5 separate regions of the Homo sapiens genome follow, and regions 1, 2, 4 and 5 are each linked to region 3. Evidence: promoter capture Hi-C in 16 types of primary human blood cells and fetal thymus (Javierre and others, 2016). All regions are on one chromosome and are shown on one strand. The core of a region is centred on a gene start or on the middle of the fragment in contact, and the rest is flanking DNA. Distances in the headings are between cores, read along the strand shown.

Evidence for each region. The method cuts DNA at HindIII sites, captures the fragments that hold promoters and counts their contacts. A CHiCAGO score of 5 or more calls a contact.
Region 1: a contact is called between the fragment with the promoter of CAMK1 here and a fragment that was not itself captured in region 3, in 5 of 17 cell types (monocytes, activated CD4 T cells, neutrophils and 2 more). The highest score is 9.4, in monocytes.
Region 2: the fragment with the promoter of MTMR14 here is called in contact with a fragment that was not itself captured in region 3 in 1 of 17 cell types (neutrophils); the score reaches 5.4 in neutrophils.
Region 4: the fragment with the promoter of RPUSD3 here is called in contact with a fragment that was not itself captured in region 3 in 3 of 17 cell types (activated CD4 T cells, total CD8 T cells and naive B cells); the score reaches 6.3 in activated CD4 T cells.
Region 5: the fragment with the promoter of CPNE9 here is called in contact with a fragment that was not itself captured in region 3 in 1 of 17 cell types (monocytes); the score reaches 5.8 in monocytes.

The regions. Positions count from the first base shown.
Region 1 is chr3:9,768,359-9,771,288 of GRCh38, reverse strand. It overlaps CAMK1 (calcium/calmodulin dependent protein kinase I), which reads left to right and starts at 1,342. Exons shown (of 12, transcript NM_003656.5): 1 at 1,342-1,457. It also overlaps a transcript of OGG1 not described here. RefSeq lists a silencer at 1,392-1,571. The HindIII fragment of the contact is 10,493 bases long and covers 1-2,690 here.
Region 2 is chr3:9,648,248-9,650,999 of GRCh38, reverse strand. MTMR14 (myotubularin related protein 14) reads right to left here and starts at 1,495. Exons shown (of 19, transcript NM_001077525.3): 1 at 1,258-1,495. The coding sequence starts at 1,416. RefSeq lists silencers at 1,331-1,430, 1,531-1,640 and enhancers at 1,512-1,681, 968-1,863, 1,671-1,900. The HindIII fragment of the contact is 16,951 bases long and covers 1-2,752 here.
Region 3 is chr3:10,103,435-10,106,134 of GRCh38, reverse strand. FANCD2OS (FANCD2 opposite strand) reads left to right here. Exons shown (of 2, transcript NM_001164839.2): 2 at 1,353-2,198. The coding sequence starts at 1,361. The coding sequence ends at 1,894. Among named protein-coding and RNA genes, the nearest start is that of FANCD2OS, 3.5 kb to the left of the region's middle. The HindIII fragment of the contact is 1,207 bases long and covers 747-1,953 here.
Region 4 is chr3:9,842,535-9,845,283 of GRCh38, reverse strand. It overlaps RPUSD3 (RNA pseudouridine synthase D3), which reads left to right and starts at 1,276. Exons shown (of 9, transcript NM_173659.5): 1 at 1,276-1,394; 2 at 1,683-1,819. The coding sequence starts at 1,294. RefSeq lists an enhancer at 1,334-1,413. The HindIII fragment of the contact is 7,859 bases long and covers 1-2,749 here.
Region 5 is chr3:9,702,257-9,705,165 of GRCh38, reverse strand. It overlaps CPNE9 (copine family member 9), which reads right to left and starts at 1,333. Exons shown (of 21, transcript NM_153635.3): 1 at 1,102-1,333; 2 at 539-579; 3 at 371-417; 4 at 172-275. The coding sequence starts at 1,169. MTMR14 (myotubularin related protein 14) reads right to left here. Exons shown (of 19, transcript NM_001077525.3): 19 at 2,773-2,909. RefSeq lists an enhancer at 784-1,694. The HindIII fragment of the contact is 18,760 bases long and covers 1-2,050 here.

The sequences.
Region 1 (2,930 bases), core at 93-2,592, 330 kb after region 3:
CCTTGGGAAGCTGATTGGGGAGGATTGCTTGAGCCCAGGAGTTTGAGACCAGCCTGGGCAATATAGTGAGATCCCCATCTCTACAAAAAATAAAAAAGCCAGGTGTGGTGGCACGCACCTGTAGTCCCATCTACATGGGAGGCTGAGGTAGGAAGATGACTTGAGCCCAGGAGTTTGAGGCTGCAGTGGGCCGTGATCATGCCATTGCACTCCAGCCTGGGTGACAGAGCAAGACCCTGTCTTAAAAAAAAAAGAAAAAGAAAAAAAGAAGAAGAGAAAGAAAGAAAAAAGAAAGAAAGAAAGAGAAAAAGGAAATGAGCTGGGCATAAGCACTGTTCTCTCCCCATCACCAGCTGGAACATGCAAGAATTCAGGAGTAGGGAGTGGCACTTGGAGGCCCTTGGAGGTGGAGTGGGGTCCCAAGCAACGTGCCTCCTCCGGCTGCCCCCAGTTCAGCCCCATCCCCAATTCCTGCGAGTTGCTCCCCCCGCCCCCTCTTTCCACTCGGCACCAAATTTCTTCCCAAGGAAGGCCTTGAGCAAACCGACCTTTGGCCTCTTGCCTGCCGTCCTAGTTGCAGGCTCTCTCCCCTAACCTGGACCCCAGCCATCAAACTCTGGAGCCCCGCCAGTCACGTGACACCTCGGTCCTTTTTGGCCTGTTTCCTTCAGGATCCCGATTTAACTTCCTCCTCCCCAATTCCCTCTGCCCCCAATACCTCTAGGCACCACCACCCGCTCTGAGGAGCAAGTGTCTGGGGCTGAAGCCTCAGCTCCATCTTGCAGAGGAACCGGGGCCTCAGTCTTCCCACCTGTCAAGTGGGGCCCACACCCTGCGACCACCTCCACTCTCTTCATTGCCTAGTCTTGCCCGGTCCTTCCCCACTCCCTCACTCCCCCATCCCCCACCAGACTCCCGTGCAGTTCCAGGGCCTGTTTCCCTTCAGGGCACGGAGAAGGGAGACAGAGCCCTAAGGGAGGTCGCAGAACTGGTCTGAAAGAAAATCCACCAGGCCACAGGGTGAGTTTGGCCGGCCTCTAGCTTCAGACAGACGGGGTTCGAATCCTGCTTTGCTTCCGACCACCCGCTGATTTGAAAATCATCTCTCCGGGCCTCAGTTGTCCCCTCTGTGAAATGGACCCCGCTTAAGACCAAGGGCGGGAAGCGTCCAGCAGGAGATCTCTGACCAGAAGCAGGGAGATGGCCTCCACCCGTGCCCCTTCCCCAGCCTTGGAGCGGTGCCTCGCCTCCCAATCCCGGGTCCCTCCGCCGCAGGCTCCACCTCCACTGACATCAGAGCCGCAGGCGGGCGGAGAGAGCCGCCGAGCCGAGCCGAGCCCCAGCTCCAGCAAGAGCGCGGGCGGGTGGCCCAGGCACGCAGCGGTGAGGACCGCGGCCACAGCTCGGCGCCAACCACCGCGGGCCTCCCAGCCAGCCCCGCGGCGGGGCAGCCGCAGGTACAGCCGGGCCCCCCATCCCTGCACCCCTGGGCGCTGCGTGGGGGCGGTGGGAGCCCCTAGCCTCTGGGTATCCTTTCCCAAGGAGTGGCCACTGGGCACTCTCCCGGGCGGGCTGGACCCTGAGGGGCAGGGCTGGGCCTTTCTCCACCTCTGTCCCAGGCCCAGCAGGTGCCAGGCGGGCCTATGGGACACTGAGTGGGTAATAGAGAAGGGGGCCTGTGTGAGCGCCTTCAGCTGGGCCTGACTGGAAGGGCGTGGGCATTTGGAGGTATCCATGGGGTGGGGGGGCTTGCGGAGTGTACTGTCTTAGGACAGGCGTGTGGGTCAGACATGGGTGGAGGATCTGGGAATCTGTGTGTTTTTTGTTCCAGAGGGGTGTCCACGTGTTTTGTGTGCTGGTATTTGGCTCTCAGGGTCTTAAGTCAGAGTTAGGAGGGGGTGTACAATTGTGTACTGAGGATGTTTGGAGTTAGGTGTGTAAGGACTTGGGGTTTGGTTTGGAATACAGGAGCTTCCAGGGGATGGGGTAGAGGAGCTGGAGGGTGTAGGGTACGTCTGGTATATGAGGGTGTGTGTGTGTGTGTCTGGGTGTCATCTTGTGTGGGTGCGGGTGGATGTGTGTTTTGGGGTGTAAGAGGGAGCTGGGTGAGGGATGTTTGGATGGACAGGCAGGTGTTCGGGTGCAGGGCTGTCTGGGGCACTGTGTGGTGTGGACATGTGTGCTGATGTCTGGGAGTACATGTATGATCAGGTGTCACGGGATGTGGATACAAGGCGTACTGGATCTGGGAGGCAGGTGTTTGAGTTCAGGGCTGTGGAGGGGGCTTGGTGTGGCATGTCTGCTACAGGGATGTGTGTGGATCTGTGAGGGTTGTATTTGGTAGGCCTCCATGTGGGTTTCAGACTCTGCCTCTAGAGCTTACACTCGAGTCTCCTTTCCTAGAAGATTCTGCCCCTGGATGGGTGGGCAGGGTCCCCTGGGAAAAAGGTCCTGTTCCAGGAGTGGAATCTCACACCAGAGGCCCTAGTCAGGGCACCTTCTCCTCATTCTCCCTTAGAGAAAAAGAGAGAAGGAAAGTGCTCTCCCTGAGGTCACAAAGCATGCTGGGCTCTGTTTTGGCCTCATCTGTGGATGGGTTGGGAGGCTGTGTTCTCTGAATGGGGCCCATTCTGGCTTCATATTGGAAGTACCAGCCAAGGCCATTCGATGGCCTTTGCCCTCAGCAAGCTTAGCTGGGGGCCCCAGGCCAGGTGTCATTAGGGCCTCTGGAGCCAGCCTCTACCTAACTCCAACCTCAGTCTCCCCATTCTTCATCTGATAAATGGGAGAGAACTCCCACCCTCTCCTGCTGGATGAGACAGACCTCAGCAGAGGAAGGGCCAGGCTGGATAGGGTTAGATGGGGCCAGGAAGGGACAGAGTGAGCAGGACCATTTCTCATGCTCCCGGGACCCAGATGGGGAGTCAGGA
Region 2 (2,752 bases), core at 246-2,745, 460 kb after region 3:
TGGCCAACCTGGGGAAACTCCATCTCTACTAAAAACTACAATAATTAGCTGGGCGTGGTGGTGGGGTCCTGTAATCCCAGCTACTTGGGAAGTTGAGGCAGGGAGAATTGCTTGAACTGGGGAGGCGGAGGATGCAGTAAGCTGAGATTGCGCCACTGCACTCCAGCCTAGGCGACAAAGCGAGACTCCTTCTCAAAAGAAAAAAAAAAAAAAAGCAAATTCCAGGATCCCACCCCCAGAAATTCTGACTTGGTAGGACTGGGTGGGACTAAGGAATCTCTGTTTTCACAAAGTATCCCATAAGCACAAATTTTAAAAGTACCCCAGATGATCATTAAACAGGTGGTCCCCAGACTATACTTGGAAAAATTACTTGGCCATTTGGAGAGTGAGGAAGTCCAATCCTTACTGAAGTCTTCCCTGGGTTACTTCAGAGACTACAAGATGCCAACTACAGAATAGCAACTCACGGTAATCTCTGAGGTCAAATCAGAGTTCTGTGGTGCAGGATGGAACAGAATTCCACTGGAAAACTTGGTGCTAAAGCTGCCAAAACCACGTGGGGGAATGAGATGGCAGGGTCGGCAAGATTCCCACCGCACTGCCAGCCAGTGCTTAGGGTGGGGATGGCCTGAGCTGACAGGAAGCCCTCCAGGTCTGGCGATAAGACGACTGGGTGGAAATCCCAAAGGGAGCAAAAAGAGGAACGGAGACCTGCTTTAGATAAAGGAACTGAAAGGGAGTGTGGGTTGTCTTCCTGCTCTATAGGGGAAGGAAAGGGATGGGCCTAAGTCATGCTGAGACCTTATAAGGGGGCAGCACACTGGGTTCACCTCCTGGCTCCATTCTGACCTCTGACCCCGAGGAATCGTCTCCCTATTTTTCTTAGCTTTTTCTTGGGGCTTTTTCCCTGACACAACTCATCCTACGGCACCTGAAGCAGGGAATAGACCTTCCTTAGGTCCTCCTCTCTGATCTTTGAACCTGGCCCCTCAGCTTGATCTCTCACCTCCAGACCCCTTCTCAAACAAGAAGGACCTCTTTGCTGGGCTCATTCTGACCCCAGTTCCTCCTTTTATGGTTGTCAAGACCGACTCTTATACTCCGGATACAGACCCTGGAGAACTCCTCTCTCTCTCTCCTCTTCCTCAGCGGCGAGGTACCACTCCTACCTTTTTCTGACCCCTGGCCTCAGCCTTTCCTCTGTAACTTCCCAAGTTAGGAGCCTTCCCCAGCTCATCGCACCTCCAATCTCACCTTAGAGCCGCCGGTCCCGCTGCCATCCTTGGCCCGGTACTGAGTCCGGGAGAACTCCTCCAGCAGCTCCCCAAGCCCCAGCTCCTGAGGCGGCTGGTTGCCTGAAGAGGCCGAGGACCCCGCCGAGGCAGCGGCGGCGGCGGCCCGAGCGCCGGCCATGGCCCAGCCCCGCGTCCCCTCAGTGTGCCTCAAGCGGGCCCATGGCACCTGCCTGCACCCAACTCCGACACTAGAACCTCCGGAACCGCCTCAGCCACCGCCTTCTACTTCCACTTCCACTTCCGGCCCCGCCCCGTCCCGCCGGATGTTTACTCCGACTCTGGCCAATCGGAGCTCTGGACCCGCGCCCCGCCTACGATTACTGGCCCGCCCCCGGCGCAGAGCGATCCTTCTATCCACCAGGGAGGCCACTGGCTGATACCGCGTGATCCGCCCCAAGGGGTTTCCCCCGGGGAAGCCGGGCTCAACCATTGGGCTGCCGGGGGAGGGGGGTAGCAGGAAGGAACCATTGAAAAGAACCAGAGGAAAAGTGGAATCAACAATTACAGGGAAGCCGAGCGTGGTGGCTCACACCTGTCATCCCAGCACTTTGGGGGGCCGAGGCGGGCGGATCACTTGAGGCCAAGAGTTCGAGACCAGGCTGCCAAAATGGTGAAACCGCATCTCTACTAAAAATAAAAAAATTAGCCGGGCATGGTGACACCCACCTGTAATCCCAACTACTTGGGAGGCTGAGGCAGGAGAATCGCTTGAACCCATGAGGCTGAGGTTGCAATGAGCCGAAATCGAACCACTACACTCCAGCCTGGGTGACAGAGCAATACTCTGTCTTAAGAAAAAAAAAAAATTACAGGGCGAGGAGGAGAGAACGCTTGGAGGCAACAAATTAGTACTAGAAACCATAATGGCAGTGGTTACCAATATTAAAACATTTCAGCCGGCCGCGGTGTCTCACGCCTGTAATCCCAGCACTTTGGTAGGCCGAGGCAGGCGGATTATGAAGTGAGGCATTCGAGACCAGCCTGATCAACGCAGTGAAACCCCGTCTCTACTAAAAATACAAAAATTAGCCGCGCGTGGTGGCAGGTGCCTGTAATCCCAGCTACTCGGGAGGCTGAGGCAGGAGAATTGCTTGAACCCGGGAGGCGGAGAGTGAGCCGAGATCGCGCCACTGCACTCCAGCCTGGGTGACAGAATGAGACTCCGTCTCTAAAACAAAAACAAAAACACAACATTTCATAAAACCCTTTCTCCCCCTGCTGCTCACAACATCCCTGTGAGTACAGTGCATTATATCATCAGCCCTATTTTATTGAGGTAGAAACTGGGAGTCAGGGAGGTGAAGCGACTGCCTTGAAATTCTGTGATGAGAAGCCTCTCATTATTATTATTATTAGAATATTTCAGACATTCGCAAAAGTGGAGACAATAGTATAATGAACCCTCATGTACCCATTAACTGGTTTTGAACAATAATCAACATCTGCTTATCTAT
Region 3 (2,700 bases), core at 101-2,600:
AGCTCCTCTGAGGTGGTATATAAATAACCCAGGGGTCTGCAAGTTGCTCCCTTGTGCTAGAAAATGCAGAGGCCTTTGGGGCCAGGAGATGATCTCAGTAATGAATAGTGAAAGCTAGAGTTGTTTGAAAGGAATAGCATAAGAAATTCTCAAAATAGACAATGCAAGAGGGCTTATATAAATGCAGATTGCTGGGTCCCACGTGGAGTTTGTTCCTGTTGGTCTGAGGTGGGGCCCAAAAATGTGCATTTCTGCAAGTTTCCAAATGATGCTGAAGCTGCTACTACAGGGTTCATACATCGCGAACCTCAAAATATATATATATATATATATATATATATATATATATATATATATATATAATTTTTTTTTTTTTTTTTTTTTTAGATGGAGTCTTGCTCTTTCACCCAGGCTGGAGTGCAGTGGTGCGATCTTGACTCACTGCAACCTCCGCCTCCTGGGTTAAAGCAATTCTCACACCTCAGCCTCCCCACAGAGCTGGGACTACAGGCATGCGCCACCACGCCCGGCTAATTTTTGTATTTTTAGTAGAGACAGGGTTTCACCATGTTGGCCAGGCTGTTCTGGAACTCTGACCTCAAGTGATCCGCCCGCCTCAGCCTCCCAAAGTGCTGGGATTATAGGCATGAGCCACTGTGTCCAGCCACAAATATTTTTAAGACATGACTTTTCTGAGCTTCTTCTAATCTCAAGTAATAAGGTCTCATCATGAAGTCCCAGAAGCTTCTGTCACCTCAGAAGATAAAGACTCTGTCATTAGCAGCTAACAACACAGCATAGGTCCTAACAGTGGACCTATATTCATTTCAGACAAATCCATTGCCTCATCTATAAAATGGGTTAAGACCTACTTCCAAAGGCTTGTGAAAAAGTTTAATATAAAGTTTTAGTACACATAGCAGTTGCCAGATCAATACTTGTAATCATTCCCTACTTCCCTTTATTAGAATTACTAATATCTAGGCTGGGCGAAGTGGGTCACGCCTATAATCCCAGCACTTTGGGAGGCCGAGGCGGTGGATCACCTGAGGTCAGGAGTTGGAGAGCAGCCTGGCCAACATGGCAAAACTCTGTCACTACAAAAAAATACAGTGAGCCAAGATCGCTCCACTGCACTCCAGCCTGAGTGACAGAGCGAGACTCTTGTCTCAAAAAAGAAAAAATAAAATAAAATAAAATAATTACTAATATCCTAACACCTGTTGGAATCTATTCATGGGAACTATAGAACAAGTTTATGTCTATAGTGAGACAGAGATGGGAATTTGAAAGGCCATGCTCTCATGAAAAGCATGTCAGGGAAATTCCATGCTCTGATTTCCCTCCTTTAGGACTGTCAATGGCAGGATACCAGCTCTGGTCACCATGGACCCCACTGGATGAGAGTTTCCAATGGCTGCGGCACACGACACCTACACCTTCCTCCAAGCACCCATTCAAGGCCTCCCCCTGCTTCCCACACACACCGTCCGACCTTGAAGTGCAGCTGTGCTTTCAAGAGGTCACTCTAGTCCTAGACAGCCCATTCCTGGAATCTGGAGTGAGTCCCAAGTTACCCTGCCACACATCAGAGTTGCGCACGATGAACAACAAAGGACTGGTCAGGAAGCCCCAGCCCATCCGCCTCAGTGGAGTAGATTCTGTCTTTGGCAGGGTTATCACAGCTCAGCCACCAAAGTGGACCGGGACTTTCAGAGTTTCAGACAAGTCAGCCTTTTGCAAAATCATTAGCAGGGAGCACCAGTGGCCCATTGGACTGAAGGAGCCTCAGATTCAGATGACAGTCACTATGTGCAAACAGATGCTGCGCTCTATCCTCTTGCTGTATGCAACTTACAAAAAGTGCACCTTTGCCTTGCAGCACTCCAAGTAAAGGGTCCTCATTTGATCCCCATTTACTCACACCATGCCCTTTGGTATGTACCTAAAGCTTACAGAAACCTGTCCATGTAAATGAAACTGTGACATTGTCCCAGCCATCTTGCTTTTGTTTCAAGCAGTGATGATTCAGGAGCCCCTTTCATCCCTTCCCCTCCAAAAAAGGACCAATGATAGAGAACAAGGAAGAACATTCCCATTGTAAGGTTGAACCATTTAGAGTCAAACTAGCATTGACATGTCCATGTGATAACCGTTAAACAAATGATATAAACCAATGAGCCTAGTGTGAACTCACATAAACACCTACAACCACAATGAATTGGGGGGAAAAGGGGTGTAGAGGAGAAAGATGTATGGATTTCTATGTACCAGGGGATGTCAAAAATCTATATATATAGGTCAAGGATTACTTTAAAACCTCCCCCGACCAAAACAATGAAAATAAGAAAAAAACCCTAACCAACCACACCCTAATACCACTAGAGTGTACAAAAGTGGGTAGAAATACTGATATTAAACAATACTTACAGCCTGGCAAGAAAGAACTTGGTAGCAGCACTGAAGCTAGGCTTTCTGGTAGGCTACATGGAACTCATGAGTCTCCATTTTAGCTGAAATGTACTCCTAATGTAATTTTGTAGCATTTTTTTGGTTTTTGGAGACAGGGTTTCATTCTGTCATCACGGCTGGACTACAGTAGCATGGTCTTGGCTCACTGCAGCCTCAAACTCCCAGGCTCAAGTGATCCTCCCGCCTCAGCCTCCTGAGTAGCTGGGACTACAGGTGCGGGCCACCATA
Region 4 (2,749 bases), core at 27-2,526, 260 kb after region 3:
CGCACCTGTAATTCCAGCTACTCAGGAGGCAAAGGCAGGGGAATCGCTTGAACCCGGGAGGTGGAAGTTGCAGTGAGTCGAGATCGGGCCACTGCACTCTAGCCTGGGTGACAGAGCGAGACTCTGTCTCCAAAAAACAAAAACCAAAACACATTAGGAAAATGTTCACACCAAACTCAAAGTGGAGACTGGGGAGGGAGTGAAAACTGGAAGCACGCAGTAAAGGGGAATTTACTTTTATCCCTTTCATTTCTTAAACAAGAAAAACAGGAAACCTATACATATATATATTGTTTCACAATGACTAATTCTGATGGTAGGAATGTGGGCAGTCATTATATTATTCTTTTTTTTCTGTGTTCTTCTACTTTCTTTTTCTTTTTTCTTTTTTTTTTTTTTTTGAGACGGAGTCTCGCTCGTCGCCCAGGCTGGAGTGCAGTGGCACGATCTCGGCTCACTGCAAACTCCGCCTCCCGGGTTCACGCCATTCTCCTGCCTCAGCCTCCCGAGTAGCTGGGACTACAGGCGCCCGCCACCACGCCCGGCTAATTTTTTTGTATTTTTGGTGGAGACGTGGTTTCACCGTGTTAGCCAGGATGGTCTCGATCTCCTGACTTCGAGGGGCCACAGGACTAGTAGAGCCAAGAGTTGAGGGTCCGGGTGGGGTGATCCGGCCGTCAGAAATGCAAAAGCCTGGAAAGACATCTCCAAAGGCCAATCTCAGGTTGGACAATCGTGAGCTGGGGAAGCTGCAAACACTGTGACCTCCGGAATAACCGCTGGTAATCAGTTACCTCTAACCCTTAGCAGAATTCAGGTCCCTCTACTACTCCTAACCTGGTGGCCTTTCATTAACTCTATGAAGCCAGTTTAGTTCGGGGGAAGGGCAATTATCATTTAGACTACGAACTAATTTCTCCCAAAGTTAGCTTGGCCCAAGCCCAGGAATGACCAAGGACCGTTTAGAGGTTAAAGGCAAGCTGCGGGTTGGTTAGATCAGATCTCTTTCGCTGTCATAATTTTGTAATATAATTTTTGCAAAGGCGGCTTCAGGTTTTTTGCTAAGACAGGTTTTTTGATCAGATCAAATTCTTCTGCTACAGCGCTCTCCCTAAAAGCATAGGAAGGCATTTCTGCATTTCCTTCCTGGGCGGAGGAAAAGCCCCGCCTCCTCAGGCTCTGAGTCCCGCCCGGTCACCATTCCGATTGACACTCCAGCTGACCAATCAGCGCGCTGGCTGGAGCGCGGGTCTGCCCCTCTGGACGCACATGCGCGCTGTCCTGGCTCGGGAGATGGACGGCCGCCGTGTTTTGGGCCGGTTCTGGAGTGGCTGGCGGCGGGGCCTGGGTGTCCGCCCAGTGCCCGAGGACGCAGGCTTTGGCACCGAAGCCCGGTGATTAAGTACCCCCTCTCTCATGCGGGACGGAGGCTAGGGCAGGGGGAAGGCACGTGCGGGATCTGGATCAGGTAGATGTTACCCGAAAACAGCCCCGTTGGCCTCTCTGAGCCTCGGTGCCCTCCGCTGTAGAATGGGACCGGTCGTACCTGAATTTTCGAGGTCAGCCCAGACATTGTGAGGCATTTGTCAGAGGCCGCAGGATTTGGGAAGAGGCGTCCGGAGATAGGAATGGGTGGCACCTCGGGATGGAATGACTCCCATTGCTTCTCCCTCCTTGTCCAGGCATCAGAGGCAACCCCGCGGCTCCTGCCAACGGTCGGGGCCCCTCGGGGACCAGCCCTTCGCGGGGCTGCTGCCAAAAAACCTCAGTCGGGAGGAGCTGGTTGATGCGCTGCGGGCAGCCGTGGTGGACCGGAAAGGTGAGGGGTGAGAGGCACGGCCGCACAAGGACCGGGAGGGGACTGCCTCGGCGTGCAGTTGGGCTCTCCATTGAAGCCACGGGATCAGCCCTGCTTCTGCCTCCCACTAGCAGCATGAGCTGGGACAAGCCACCTAATTTGCACCCTCTCCCCGCTTTTAACCCTACTGCCATGATGCAGTAGGGTTAAGAGTGGGGAGAAGATGCAAATAACTACCGAGCCTTGCACATAGCCGGCGCTCAGTTACGGGAGTTGCTATACTAGATTATTGTTTATTGGCCGCGGTGGCTCACGCCTGTAATCCCGGCACTTTAGGGTGCTGACGCGGGCGGATCACCTGAGGTCAGGAGTTCGAGACTAGCCTGGCCAACATGGTGAAACCCCGTCTCTACTAAAAACACAAAAATTAGCCAGGTGTGGCGGCGTCCGCCTGTAATCCCAGCTACTCGGGAGGCTGAGGCAGGAGAGTCACTTGAACCCGGATAGCAGAGGTTGCAGTGAGCCGACATCGTGCTACTGCGCTCCAGCCTGGGATGACAGAGCAAGACTCAGTCTAAATAAATAAATAAATAAATAATGATTATTTATCGACGGACAAAACACAGGCTTTGGAGTCAGACATACCTAGGCTCTGTGATCAGCTTGCTGTGCGGCTTTAGGAAAATAACTGAATTTCTCTGAACCCCACTCTCTATTCAGTGATTTATTCCTTTTCTCAACTATTTCTTGAACATATGCTATGTTCCAGGCACTGTTCTAGGCAGGCTATACAGTGCTGAAAAAGATAGATATGGTTTCTGCTCTCAGGGGAGAAATGGATTTCTCTCTAACGGGAGAAATGGATGTCAGAAAATAAATGAACAAGTTACTAGTGGTAAGTGCTATGCATAAACTAAAACAGGGTGTTATGATGGTGAGGAACTGCAGGAG
Region 5 (2,909 bases), core at 84-2,583, 400 kb after region 3:
GGACCGCATCTCATAAAAGGGCAGGGCTCAGGCTAGAGGGGGCCATTCAGAATGGGAGGGAGGCCTGCGAGAAGAACCAGGCCGGAGGCGAGGCGGGGGTGGGGCCAGCCAGAATTCCGGGCGGATCCAGGTCGGGGGCGGGCCAAGCCAGAATTCCAGGCGGGGCCTCACACATCGAAGCGCAGATTTTGCTTTTCCTCAAAGAAATAGTCGAGGACGAATTTGCGCACGAAGTCTGGGTTCAGCGTGTTATCAATCACCTCGGTCCGTCCGAACTGGGTAGGGGGGTGGAGGGTCAGCGTGGGACGTGCAGACGGGCAGGGGAATTCCCGGGCGACGCCCTGGGCCGGGAGGGGGCTCTGGGACTCACCTCCCGCCACTCCTGGCTGGCCCGGCTCTGCGTGTAAAGCACCACCACTGCAGGTGGGGGCGGGGAGGGAAGGACGTCAGGTCGGCTCCCACCCCTGGCCCCGACTCCACCCGCCCCTGAGTCGCGCCCAGACCCCAAGTTCCCCCTCCCGGTCCTGGAGCCGCCTACTGGGGTCGGACTTGGAGAAGGTATCAAGGTCTAGCAGGTTCCTAGAGAAAAGCAACAGACAGACAGAGTGGATCATCCTGGAGTCCGCCCGCCTCGAGTCGGCTCTGAGCCGGGCACTGAGGAGAGGCATGGGGCCCGCATCGAACCTCTGTCCCCCATGGCTACCCCCAGCCGGGGTCCGCTCTGTCAGCACTCTGGACAGCACCGGAAATCGCTGTCCAGGAACCATGGCTCTGCGGACTGGACGCGAACGCACCCACACTGTCTCCAAGGGCCCAGGAAAGAGGGCTCGCCCCAGAACTTTGTCCTCCTGGGGCCGAGCTCCTACCGGATATCTGCGACCCACCCCCTGAACCCGCAGGCTGAGCCCTTTTTTCGGGGTGGGGCTGCCCAAGACCCCCCGCTTCTCGATCCCACCAGCTACTCGCCCTGTCATCAGCTGTGATTTTCCAGCCAATTTCGCCTCTCCCCGGGGGTCTAGCCCCTGCCCAGGCTGAGCCCCGCGGCTGGCTGGGGCTGGGGCAGTGCCAGTGCCTAAGCCCTCCCCAGCGCGGCCCGCTCACCGGCAGGACACGGTAATTTCAATCTTGGTGGCCGGGACGCTGCGCTCGGAGGCTCCGCCGAGAGACATGGCTGGTCGGGCGACCAGAGCCGCAGGAGGCTGCGAGACCAGGGCTGCTGGGGCTAGGGGCGACGGCAGCGGCGGGGCCGGCCCATGTGCCGCGGTGTCGGCGGCGGCGGCGGCTGCACTCGCTCCAGCCCTGCGTGCGCTCCAGCCGCTCGCGCCCTGACAGTGGCCGCCGGCGGCAGCGGCTCCAGATGGCAGCACAGCCCCGCCCGGCCCTGCGGGCGGCCCCCGCCCCATTGGAGCAGCCTGGAGCCAGCGGGGAACCTCACCCCGACTCCCAACTCCAACCCACACCTTGGTAGAGTCTGCCCTGCGCAAGTCTCTGGGGTGGAAACCCAAGCCCCCTAGAGTTGTCCATGATGCTGAAACATTTGGGGCACCTGGTGGGCACTGGAATTGTTGCCTCTTACTGAGCCACTCCCTTAGTGTTTCTGTCTTTTCCCACTCCCAGCCTGCCTAGGTCTCTGAATAGGAAAAGTACATCTCTTAGTAGCTGTGTGACCTTGGACAAGTTACTCAACATCTCTGTGGCTCAACCGTGAAAGGCCGTCAGAAAGGCCTTTAACAGCAGCTACTTTAGGTGCTGTAAAATTTTACTGAGATAACCCAAGGAAAACACTTAGCACACAGCAAGTGCTCAGTAAACATTCACTGGTATTTATGATTTGTCCTCTGGGTATTCACAATGATGACAGTAAATGGTGGCTGTTGAGCACCGTGCAAAGCTGTCTGCCCATGCCTTTAACCCTCACGACTTTCATGGCGTTACAGATGCGGACACACTCTCATGACGCAATCTACTGTAGGTTACACTGTAGAAGAGGGTGGTGGTCAGCCAGGCTCTCACCCACCACACATGCACACCAATTGCTATCTCCAAAGCTTCAGAAGCCAGTCCTTCCTCCATAGGCAGGGCTCAAGGTAGGGGATGCAGGTCACCCGTACCAGGACCCTGCTGCCTACAGAACTTGTTAAAGATGAAGATCCTGGTCAGGTACGGTGGCTCATGCCTGTAATCCCAGCACTTTAGGAGGCCAAGGCAGGCAGATCACTTGAGCTCAGGAGTTTGAGACTGGCCTGGCCAACATGGTGAAACCCCATCTCTACTAAATACAAAAATTAGCTGGGGATGGTGGCACGTTCACGTAGCTACTCAGGAGACTGAGGCAGGAGGATCGCTTGAACCCAGGAGGCAGGGGTTGCAGTGAGCCAAGATTGTGCCATTGCACTCCAGCTTGGGTAACAGTGAGACTCCATCTCAAAAAATCTGAAAAAAATGAAGATCCTCCAGCTCCTAATTCCCAGGCAACTTCCTTAGCAACCCTAAGGCTAAAGCTCAGGCAGCCCTGGGAATGTGCACAGCTCATCAGGCTCTCTAGGTGACTAGGACCTGCTTAGGCCCGAGAACCACTACTCTCAACAGTCTTGAGTGTTGTCCCCACTGCAGGGACTACCATGGCTCATGAGTGGAGAGGTATACCTGTCGCCAGTTCTCTTCCTGTTTCACCTGCCCTCCACATAAAAACCCCTTGTCCAGCACAAGGAAGGACAATGAGAACCTTCCTAGTAGCTCCACAAAGACAATAACCAAATGATGACACAAGAGTGGCTATTCAAAAAGACTTTGATTTTATTTTGTGATCTGTGTCAAACTGCCTCATTCTCAGTGCAGGTGATCCCTCCTCCCCAGAAACAAGAACTGACAGGTAGGGTCTTTGTGAAGTCATGGCTTCCACAAGGCCC